Regions from separate parts of the Homo sapiens genome. Here all the other regions are linked to region 1. The links are contacts of gene promoters, found by promoter capture Hi-C in human tissues and cell types (Jung and others, 2019). All regions are on one chromosome and are shown on one strand. Each heading gives the region's core, a stretch centred on a gene start or on the middle of the fragment in contact. The rest is flanking DNA. Distances are from core to core; before and after follow the strand shown.

What was found. Contacts are between HindIII fragments. The study calls those that stand out against the background at their distance.
Region 2: a contact is called between a fragment that was not itself captured here and the fragment with the promoter of RFPL2 in region 1, in 6 of the 25 tissues and cell types used here (IMR-90 fibroblasts, dorsolateral prefrontal cortex, heart left ventricle and 3 more).
Region 3: a contact is called between a fragment that was not itself captured here and the fragment with the promoter of RFPL2 in region 1, in 2 of the 25 tissues and cell types used here (lymphoblastoid cells and spleen).

What each region holds. Positions count from the first base shown.
Region 1 is chr22:32,203,141-32,206,650 of GRCh38, forward strand. RFPL2 (ret finger protein like 2) reads right to left here and starts at 1,933. Exons shown (of 5, transcript NM_001394555.1): 1 at 1,567-1,933. It overlaps SLC5A4-AS1 (SLC5A4 antisense RNA 1), which reads left to right and starts at 1,975. Exons shown (of 4, transcript NR_149072.1): 1 at 1,975-2,107. RefSeq lists an enhancer at 3,377-3,510. The HindIII fragment of the contact is 14,140 bases long and covers 1-3,510 here.
Region 2 is chr22:32,011,358-32,014,944 of GRCh38, forward strand. All of the region lies in intron 4 of LINC02558 (long intergenic non-protein coding RNA 2558), which reads left to right. Among named protein-coding and RNA genes, the nearest start is that of SLC5A1, 30 kb to the right of the region's middle. The HindIII fragment of the contact is 4,927 bases long and covers 1-3,587 here.
Region 3 is chr22:32,433,467-32,436,695 of GRCh38, forward strand. It overlaps BPIFC (BPI fold containing family C), which reads right to left. Exons shown (of 17, transcript NM_174932.3): 10 at 2,238-2,414; 11 at 253-306. Among named protein-coding and RNA genes, the nearest start is that of RTCB, 23 kb to the left of the region's middle. The HindIII fragment of the contact is 8,775 bases long and covers 1-3,229 here.

The DNA.
Region 1 (3,510 bases), core at 683-3,182:
CCGTGCCTAGTACATGCAGCACCCAATGGCGCTGGCAGCCTGCCCCCTGCCACGGGCAGCGCAGCCCGGGATAACTCCCCAAACCCGCTCTGTGCTGTGGGCAGTGCAGCCACGGATACCACCCTCAACCAGCCCCTCGCCACAGGAAATGACTCCCGGGATAGCGCCCCAAATCAGCCCCCAGCCTCGGGCAGTGACGCCTGGAGTAGGTCACCCAACCCAACTCCTGCGCGGGCAGTGCAGCACCAGATAGCGCCCCTAAAACGCCTCCCGCCACCGGCGGTGTAGCCCAGGATAGCGCCGCCAACCCGGTACTCGCCGCGGCAGTGTAGCGATAGGGCACCCAATCTGCCACCCACCGCCGGCAGTGCAACCCCAGATAGCGCACCGAACTCACTCCCTGCTGGGCAGTGCAACCCCACATAGCATCCAACCCGCCTCCCCACCCAGCCACTGGCAGTCCGCCCCCGATAATGTCCCATACACGCTCCTGGCTGTGGGCAGTGCAGCCCATGGGTAGCGCCCCCAACCAGCCCCCAGCCATGGGGAGTGATGCCTCGGATAACACACCCAACAAGTTCCCCACCATGGCACTGATGTCCCAGGTAGCGCCCCCAATCCTTGCCCCTCAGCGACCAGTGCAGCCATGGATAGCGCCCTCAACAAGCCCCTCCACTGACCCCCGCCGCTGTGGGAAATGACGCCCGGGATAACGCACCCAACCCTCCCCCGCCATGAGCAATGCAACACGCACTACTGCTCCTTACACGCCCCCCACTACATGCGGTGTAGCCAACGATGGCGCCCCCATCTCCCCCTCGCCTCGGGCAGTGTAGCTCCCGATAGTGCATCCAACCCATTCCCTCTGCCCCTCTCCTCCCACCGAGTCAACCACCGCCGGCAGTCCAACCCCAAATAGCGCACCCAATCCACTCCCTGCCAGGCAGTGAAGCCCCCCGATAGCACCCAACCCGCACCCCCACCCCCGCCACTGGCAGTCCGCCCCGATAACGCCCCAACACGCTCCTGGCTGTAGGCAGTGTAGCCCATAGATAGAGCCCCCAACCAGCCCCCAGCCAAGGGCAGTGACGCCTCGGATATCACAGCCAACAAGTTCCCTGCCATGCGCACTGATGTCCCAGATAGCGCCCCCAACCCGTACCCCAGCGCGACCAGTGCAGCCACGGATAGCGCCCCCAGCAAGCCACCCCGCGGCTGCGGGAAATGACGTCCGGTAAAGCACCCAACCTTCCCGTGCTGTAGGCAGTGCAGCACCCAATACTGCCCCTAACACGCCTCCCACCACCGGGTTGTAGCCCACGATGGCGCCCTCAATCCGCCCCCGCTCCCACCTCGGGCAGTGCAGCTCCAGATCGTGCATCCAACCTGTCCCCCTCCCCGCCCCCTGCCGCAGGCAGTGAGCCCTGGATAGCTCATCCACCCCGCCACCTTTCTACATTCTGGCTGCGGTCTAGTCTCCCTCACCGCCACCAACGGCAGCGAGCCGAGCCATGCTGCTGCAGGCTTTCAAGCCTCCAGCGTGGGACAGGTGACTCCTCCTCTAACCTGGGCATGGAGCAGATGGGCTGGCAGACGCAGAAGTGCCTGGAATGGCAAGAACCCCTCCCCCCACAGACCGAGGTTATGCAAGTAAGGTTTCTGGACTACATGTTCAGATTGGATGAGAGAAAAACCTCTAGGTCTACTCTGATTGTGCTTTATTTTCACGTTCTGACTGGATGACAGCAAGTCTTAGGATAACCAATCAGAACAAGATAACAAAGCCCGATCAGAGTAGGCCTAGAGGTTTCTCTCATCCGATCAGACTATGTAGTCGAGAAACTTCATTTGCATTAAACTCAGTATATAAAGGATGCCAAGAGGGGTGGCTTGCCCTTCCAGGCTCATCTGCGTCGGCCTGCGTAGCTGCTCTGTGCCCGGCTTAGAGGAGAAGGAGGAGGAGCCACTTGCCGCGCATGCCAGAGGCTAGAGTCATCTACCGCGCATGCTGGAGGCTGGAGCCTACAGTGGCTCACCTCGCTGCTGCGGTTGGTGGCCGCGAGGGTGACTACAGCGCAGCCAGAATGGTGAAAAGGTGGCAGAATAGGTTCGTTATCCCAGGCCGTACTGCCTGTGGCGTGGGGGGCGGGTTGGGGGCCCTATCCAGGGCGTCACTGCCCGTGTTGGGGGGCTGCTTGAGTGTGGTACCTCGGGCGTCACTGCCCGCTGAGGGGAGTGGGGTGGGGGCGCTATCCGGGGGCGCTATCCAGCCTATGGCTGGAGATGGGTTGGGGCGCTATCCGAAGCTGTAATTCCTGCGGCAGTGGGGAGTTTTGGGGGCACTATCTGGGGATGCACTGCCCGCGGCCGGGGGGCGGGGGTGAGTTAGTAGAACTATCAGGTGCTGCAATGCCCTGATGCCCTTGTTGGGGACAGGTTGTGGGGGGCTGGTGGGTGCAACACTGCTGGTGGCGAGGGTGGGTGCTGCTATCCGGTGCTACTCTGCCTGTGGGGGACGGGGGCGGGCGTGATATCCAGGGCATCATTGCCTGCATCTGGGAGCTGGTTGGGGACACTATCCATGGCTGCACTGCCCACAGTGGGGAGCGGGTTGGGGGCACTATTTGGGGCTGCAATGCTGGTGGTGGGGGACGGGTTAGGGTCACTATAGGGTGCTACACTGCTGGCAGTGGGGAGGGGGTTGTTGAGGGCGCTCTCTGGGGGCTACACTGAGACAGGTAGCGGGGGGTTGTTGGGATTGGTACCGGGGCTGGACTGCCCATGGAGAGGGGGTGGGGGCGTTGGTTGGGGGCGCTATTGAGGGCCGGGTACACTGCCTGCGGTGGAGGGGTGGGTTGGGTGCTATCAGGGGTCTGTACTGCCTAGCAGGGAGCGGGTGGGTGTGCTATCTGGGGCTGCACTGGCTGCAGCAGGGGCAGGTTGGGTGCACTATAGGGGGCTACACTGCCCTTGGCAGGGGGTGGTTTAGGTGAGCTGTCTGTGGCCGCACTGCCCGAGGTGGGGAGTAAGTTTGGGTGCTATCTGTGGCTGCACTGCCTGGAGGCAGGAAGTGGGTTGAGGGTGCTATCCTGGGCTGCTTCTCCTGGTGGGGAGCAGGTAGGGGCACTATCCAGGGTTGCACTGCCCGGGGTAGGGGGCGATTTGGGTGCCATATCGGGGCATCACTGCCCACGGCAGGGGTCTGGTTGGGGTCGCTACCCATGGCTACACTGTCTACAGCCACTGCCTACGGCAGGGAGCGGGTTGGGGGCGCTATCCCGGGCTGCGCTGCCCAAGGCAGGGGGTGGGTTGCGGGTGCCATTGGTGCTGCAGTGTCCGAGGCAGGGGCGGGTTGGGGTTGCCATCTGGTGCTACACTGCCAGCTGTGGGGGAGGGTCGGGGGCGCTATCGGGGGCTGCACCGTCCCCCTGGTGGTGGGCAGCGGAGGTGTCAGTGACAGCGGTGGTCAGAGGAGGTGAGAGGGACTCCAGTCTCTAGAGGGCCATCTCC
Region 2 (3,587 bases), core at 897-3,396, 190 kb before region 1:
AATCACTTGAACCTGGCAGGTGGAGGTTGCAGTGAGTCGAGATTGTGCTATTGCACTCCAGCCTGGGCAACAAGAGTGAAACTCCATCTCAAAAAAAAAAAAAAAAGGAACTGCTTTTGTCATATCCTATAAATTTTGGTATGCTGTGTTTCCATTTGCATTTGCCTCAAAGTTTCCCCCTTTTTTTGAGCCATTGGTTGTTCAGAAACATATTATTTAATTTCCATGTGTTTGTGAATTTTCTGAAATTCTGTTATTGATTTCTAGTTTCATACCTCTCTGGCCAGAAAAGATACATATTTGATATGATTTCAATCTTCTTAAATTTGTTAAAACTTTTCTTATGACCTAGCATGTGCTCTATCCTGAAGAATGTTCTTTGTGCACTTCAGAAGAATGCGTATTCTATTGCGGTTGGGTGGAACGTTGTGTACATTTCTATTAGGTACTTTAGGTATACAGTGTTGTTCAAGTCTAGTGTTTCCTTATTGATTTTCTGTCTGGGTAACCTATCCATTATTGAAGGTGAGGTACTGAAGTCTCCTACATATTGTTGCATTGCTCTCTATTTTTCCCTTCAGATCCCTTAATGCTTCTATCTAGGTACTGTGATGTTGGGCACATATATATTTATAATTGCTGTATCTTCCTATTGAGTTGATACTGTTGTCATTGTATAACGACCTACTTTGTCACTTGTGACAGTTTGTTTTTTAGATGGAGTCACGCTCTCTCACCCAGGCTGGAGTGCAGTGGCATGATCTCAGCTCACTGCAACCTCTGTCTCCGGGGTTCAAGTGATTCTCCTGCCTCAGCCTCCTGAGTAGCTGGGATTATAGGTGCCTCCCACCATGCCCGGCCAAATTTTGTATTTTTAGTAGAGATGGGGTTTCACCATCTTGGCCAGGCTGGCACAAACTCCTGACCTCAGGCGATCCTCCTACCTCAGTGTCTCAAAGTGCTGGGATTACAGGCGTGAGCCGCTTGTGACAGTTTTTGACTTAAAAGTCTATTGTGTCTAATATCAGTTCCCACAGTTGCTCTCTTTTGGCTACCATTTGCATGGGTCTTTTTCCATCTCCTCAATTTTAACCTGTATGCTCTTATATCTAAAATGAAACTCTTGTAGATAGCACTTAGTTGAATCGTTTTGTTTTTTTAAGTCCATTCAGCCACTATATGTCTTTTGATTGGTGAGTTTAATTCATTTACATTTAAAAGTAATTATTGATAGGTAAGGACTTACTGCTGTCATTTTCTTGTTTTCCATTTTGTAGATTCTTTGTTTCTTCTCTCTTTCTTTGTGATTTGATGATTTTTTTTGGTAGTGATATGCTTTGATTATTTTCTCTCAATATTTTGTGTATCTATTGTAGGTTTTTTGTGTTTACCCTGAAGCTTGCATAAAATATAGTTATAACAGTTTATTTTAAAGCTGACAAGATTTTTTTTTTTTTGAGCTGGAGTCTTGCTCTGTCGCCCAGGCTGGAGTGCAGTGGGATGATCTCGGCTCACTGCAACGTCTGCCTCCTGGGTTCAAGCAATTCTCCTGCCTCAGCCTCCCGAGTGGCTGGGATTACATGCGACTGCCACCACGCCCAGCTAATTTTTGTATTTTTAGTAGAGACAGGGTTTCACCATGTTGGCCAGGCTGGTCTCGAACTCCTGACCTCAAGTGATCTGCCTGCCTTGGCCTCCCAAAGTCCTGGGATTACAGGCATGAGCCACCGTGCCCGGCCGACAAAGTTATTTTTATTCCCTTTTTAATTTTTATACTAGGGTTAGAAATAATTTATACATCACCATTACTTTATTATGTTATTATGTTTTTGACCATATATTTACCTTTACTAGCAAGTTTTGTACTTTCATATGCTTTCATGTTGCTGTTTAGCATCTTTTCATTTCAACTTGAAAAACTTTATTTAGCACTTCCTATAAGGCAAGTCTAGTGGTGATTAACCCTCTCAGTTTTTGTTTGTCTTTCCTTCATTTTTATAGGACAGTTTTGCTGGGTATGGTATTCTTGGTTGGTAGGTTTTTTTTTTTCCTAGAACCTTTTATTTTTGTTGTTGTTGTTTTGAGACAGGGTCTTACTCTGTTGCCTAGGCTGCAGTGCAGTTATGTGATCATGGCTCGCTGAAACCTTGATGAAGCCTTGACTTCCTGGGCTCAGGTGATTTTCCCACCTCAGCCTCCTCAACATCTGGGACTACTGGCATGCACCACCACACCCAGCTAATTTTTGTATGTAGATATGGGGTCTCACTATGTTTCCCAGGCTGATTTTGAACTCCTAGTTTCAAGCAATCCTCCCATCTTGGCCTCTTAAAGTGCTGGGACTACAGATGTGAGCCACTGCACCCAGCCAGCACTTTGAATATATTATCTCACTCTATTATGGCCTGCAAGGTTTATGCTGAGACATACTGACAGTCTCACGGGGATTTCTTTTTATGTGAAAAGTCACATTTCTCTTGCTGCTTTCAAAATTACCTCTTTGTCTTTGAGTTTTGACAATTCAATTATAATGTATCTTGATGTAGAACTCTTTAGGTTTAACTTATTTGGAGAATTTGGGCTTCATAAATCTGGATGTCAATTTTCCCCAGATTTGGGATTTTTTTCAGTAATCATTTCTTTAAATAAGCTTTTATGCTTATTTCTCTTCTCTTTTTGGAGGTGCCATAATGCACACATTGGTTCCCTTGATGTTATCCCACAAGTCTCACAGGGTTTCTTTACTCATTTTCATTCCTTTTGATAATTTCAAATGACCTGTCTCCAAGTTTGCTGATTCTTTCTTTTGTCTGATTGAGTCTGCTGTTGCTGCTCTCTATTGGATTTTTCAATTCATTCATTGTATTTTTTTTTTTTTTTTTTTTTTTTTTTTTTTGAGACAGAGTCTCACTCTGTTGCCGAGGCTGGGACTGCAGTGGTGTGATCACTCCAGCCTCGACCTGCTGGGCTCAAGTGATCCTCCCACCTCAGCCTCCCAAGTAGCTGGGACTACAGGTGTGTGCCACCACACTCAGCTAATTAAAAAAATTTTGGGGGCCAGGCACAGTGGCTCATGCCTATAATTCTAGCACTTTGGGAGGCCGAGGCGGGCAGATCACCTGAGGTCAGGAGTTTGAGATCAGCCTGACCAACATGGAGAAATCTGGTCTCTACTAAAAATACAAAATTAGCCGAGCCTGGTGGTGCACACCTGTAATCTCAGCTACTCAGGAGGCTGAGGCAGGAGAATTGCTTGAACCCGGGGTGGGGGGCGGAGGCTGCAGTGAGCTGAGTTTGTGGCATTGCACTCCAGCCTGGGCAACAAGAGCACAACTCCGTCTCAAAAAAAAATTTTTGTGTGTGTGTGTGTGTGTAGATGAGGTTTCACTATGTTGCCCAGGCTGATCTCAAACTCCTGAGCTCAAGTGATCTTCCTGCCTTGGGCCCCCACAGTGCTGTGATTACAGGCATGAGCCACTGTGCCTGGCCCATTTTTAAATAAAATTTAATAACAAGGAAAATCTTCATTAAAAAGTGCTGAGTAACAAAAACAGGCTATGAAACTATATGTACACACTTTGATCCCC
Region 3 (3,229 bases), core at 255-2,754, 230 kb after region 1:
AGTATGATGGAATATTGTGGAAGGCACGGTGATTTATTTTGTGAACTTACAATTATACTCTCACTTGTATGTTAATTGCACTTTAAACTGTACTGTTCAGTAAATATTTGTAGATATTCGATTACGAGAAAAAACTCCCAATAATAGACAGAGGGACTTATCCAAAAAGGAATACGTAGAACCCACAAGTCTTCCAGAAGTAATTGCAATGGAGCCAAATACACTATCAAGACTCAAACCCTGAGCACTTACCCGGGAGAGCACGTTGCCAAGGCCTTGAGAGTTTTGAACAAAATGGTTGGAAATCTGGAAAATAAAGCCCATTATGTCACTGTTAGGATTTTACGTGGATTGTCTTTTCAGGGAAAATGTAGTGTTCCCTATAATTTGACGAATTGTGAAGCTGTTACACCATAAAATATTCAGTGTTTAAAGGTGACCTATCATTTTATAGCCCAATCATAGGGAATCCGAGGCTCAGAGAAGTAAAGTGACTTGCCCAAGGTCACACAGGATGTTATATTTCTTTTAACTCTGGGAACAATACAGTCTATTGTTAATAACTGTAGAATGTTTACACATGAATTGTACGTATGTAGTACAACAAAGTTTTAGTTATATATATATATATCTATATGTACATATTCTTTATTTTTATATATTACAACCTATCTATGTGTACATATTCTTTATATATATATTACAATCTATCTATGTGTACATATTCTTTATTTATGTATATTACAATCTAATGTGTACATATTCTTTATTTATATATATTACAATCTATGTGTACATATTCTTCATTTATATATTACACTCTATATGTACATAGTCTTTATATATATATTACACTCTGTGTACATATTCTTCATTTATATATATTACAATCTATGTGTACATATTCTTTATTTATATATATTACAATCTATGTGTACATATTCTTTATATATATTACAATCTATGTATACATATTATTTATATATATTACATCTATGTGTACATATTCTTCATTTATATATATTACAATCTATATGTACATAGTCTTTATTTATATATATATTACAATCTATGTGTACATATTCTTCACTTATATATATTACAATCTATCTATGTATACATATTCTACAGTCATTAACGATAAGCCTTGTGTTACTGTCCTCACTTTTAGGGATTACTGAGATACTGGATGCTTAAGGAATTTACCTTCAGAGATAAATGATTTTGAAGTCTGCAGCTAGAAGTGTCTAATTCTCAGTATCGTAAGATAGCCACTGCTGCCATACTTACCATTCTGAACATAAGCTTTATACCTACTTATATAATTAAAACATATAGAATGAGGAGATTCAAAAAGAGATGCTCAATAAAAGTTTTTGGTTGACTGGCTAGAGACAGTGCTGTCATTATAAAAGGGAGGTGCATGACAGAGGATCAATGAATATCTGTATTATTACTGATCATTGTAGATAAACCAGCTGTAATTACAACCAGGATAACTTTACGTCAGCATAATACAGGGAATAATGATGACAATGATGATAAGCAACAGTTATATCGCACTTATTCTGTGTTGGGGATTGGTCTGAATGCTTGACATGTATTTAAATCTTTTAATGCCCATATAAACTCTATGAGTAAGGAACTATTATTATCTGCCTTTTCCAGATGAAGAAATTCTGGCCCACAGAAGTTATATAAATTGAAATTACCTCTAAGGTCACAGGCAATACATGATGGAAAGGGATCTTGCTATTATTGGAGATTAATCTAGAACAGTGGTGAGTGGTGAGGTATTAGCAGAACTGGAAACTTGACAACTCCCCAACTAATACAGGTTGAACATTCCTAATCTGAATATCCAAAATTCAAAGTGCCCCAAAATCCAACTATTAAATGCTGACATGATACACAACGGAAATGCTTATTGGAGCATTTTAGATTTTGGATTTTCAGATTAGGGCTGCTCAACCGGTAAGTATATATAATGCAAATATCCCAAAATCTGACAAAATCCGAAATCCAGAACACTTCTGGTCCCAAGCATTTTGGATAAGGGATGCTCAACCCGTAACAATGTTCACTCCACAATTCCCTCATTCCTTCACTGTCTTGCTGGGAGTGATAGCCTAAAAAGGTCCCAGAATCGAAATTGTGGCATAAAAGTTCTACAATAGGATACTTATAAAAAGGCTGAATGATGGTGACCATTGACATCCTCAGTTAACTCTCCTCACCTCTTCGGTGGAGAGAGTGACATTGAAAACCCCAGCTGTGAAATGAGCAAAGGACGCAGATTTAAAGAAATACTCGGCGATTCCAATGTAGAGCATGGAGTTGCTGCGTTCTGGGAGCACAAAAGGAACTGGTGAGAAGGGGGGGTCGGTGAGGTTTTCCAGTGGGTAGAATACACCCTGTGGGAAAAGAGAGAGAAAGACCAGTGTATCAGGTGAAAACTCAAATTCTAAGAAGACTAAGAAGATGGACCCTCTGAAGTCAGAATAAGAATTCCAGAAGCTCGGGCCAGGTGTGGTGGCTCACGCCTATAATCCCAACACTTTGGGAGGCTGAGGCGGGTGAATCACTGGAACACTGGAGTTTGAATTGATTGAATGACTGTTTTTCCATGATCAACCTGGGCAACATGGCAGGCCCCGTTTCTATAAAAAATACAAAAATTAGCCAGGTGTGGTGGCGCGTACCTGTAGTTCCGGCTACTTGGGAGGCTGAGTGAGGTGAATCCCTTGAACCAGGGAGGTTGAAGCTGCAGTGAATTGTGACTGTGCCACTGCACTTCAGCCTCCAGCCTGGGTGACAGAGGGGGACCTTGTCCAAAAGAAGAAGAGGAAGAGGAAGAAGAAGAAGAAGAAAGAAGAGGAAGAGGAGGAGGAGGAGGAGGAGGAGGAGGAGGAAGAGGAGGAGGAGGAAGAGGAGGAGGAGGAGGGAAAAGAAGGAGAAGGAGAAGGAGAAGGAGAAGAAGAAGCATAAGAAGAAGAAGAAAAAGAAGAGGAAGAAGAAGAAGAAGAAGAATCCTAGAAACTCAGTAATGATGAAAAACTGTTAAGGCTTTCTGACTCCTTGACCAGTGACTATTTTTCAAAGCTCTTAGGATTCTTGAGCATATTTAGGTGTGTCTGTTTCACCCCAGGGTGTAACCCAATGAGAACCCTTGTTTGAACTTTTCTAAGACAAAGAAGGAGGTGTATTTAGCTGGAAGGACAACTCTGAG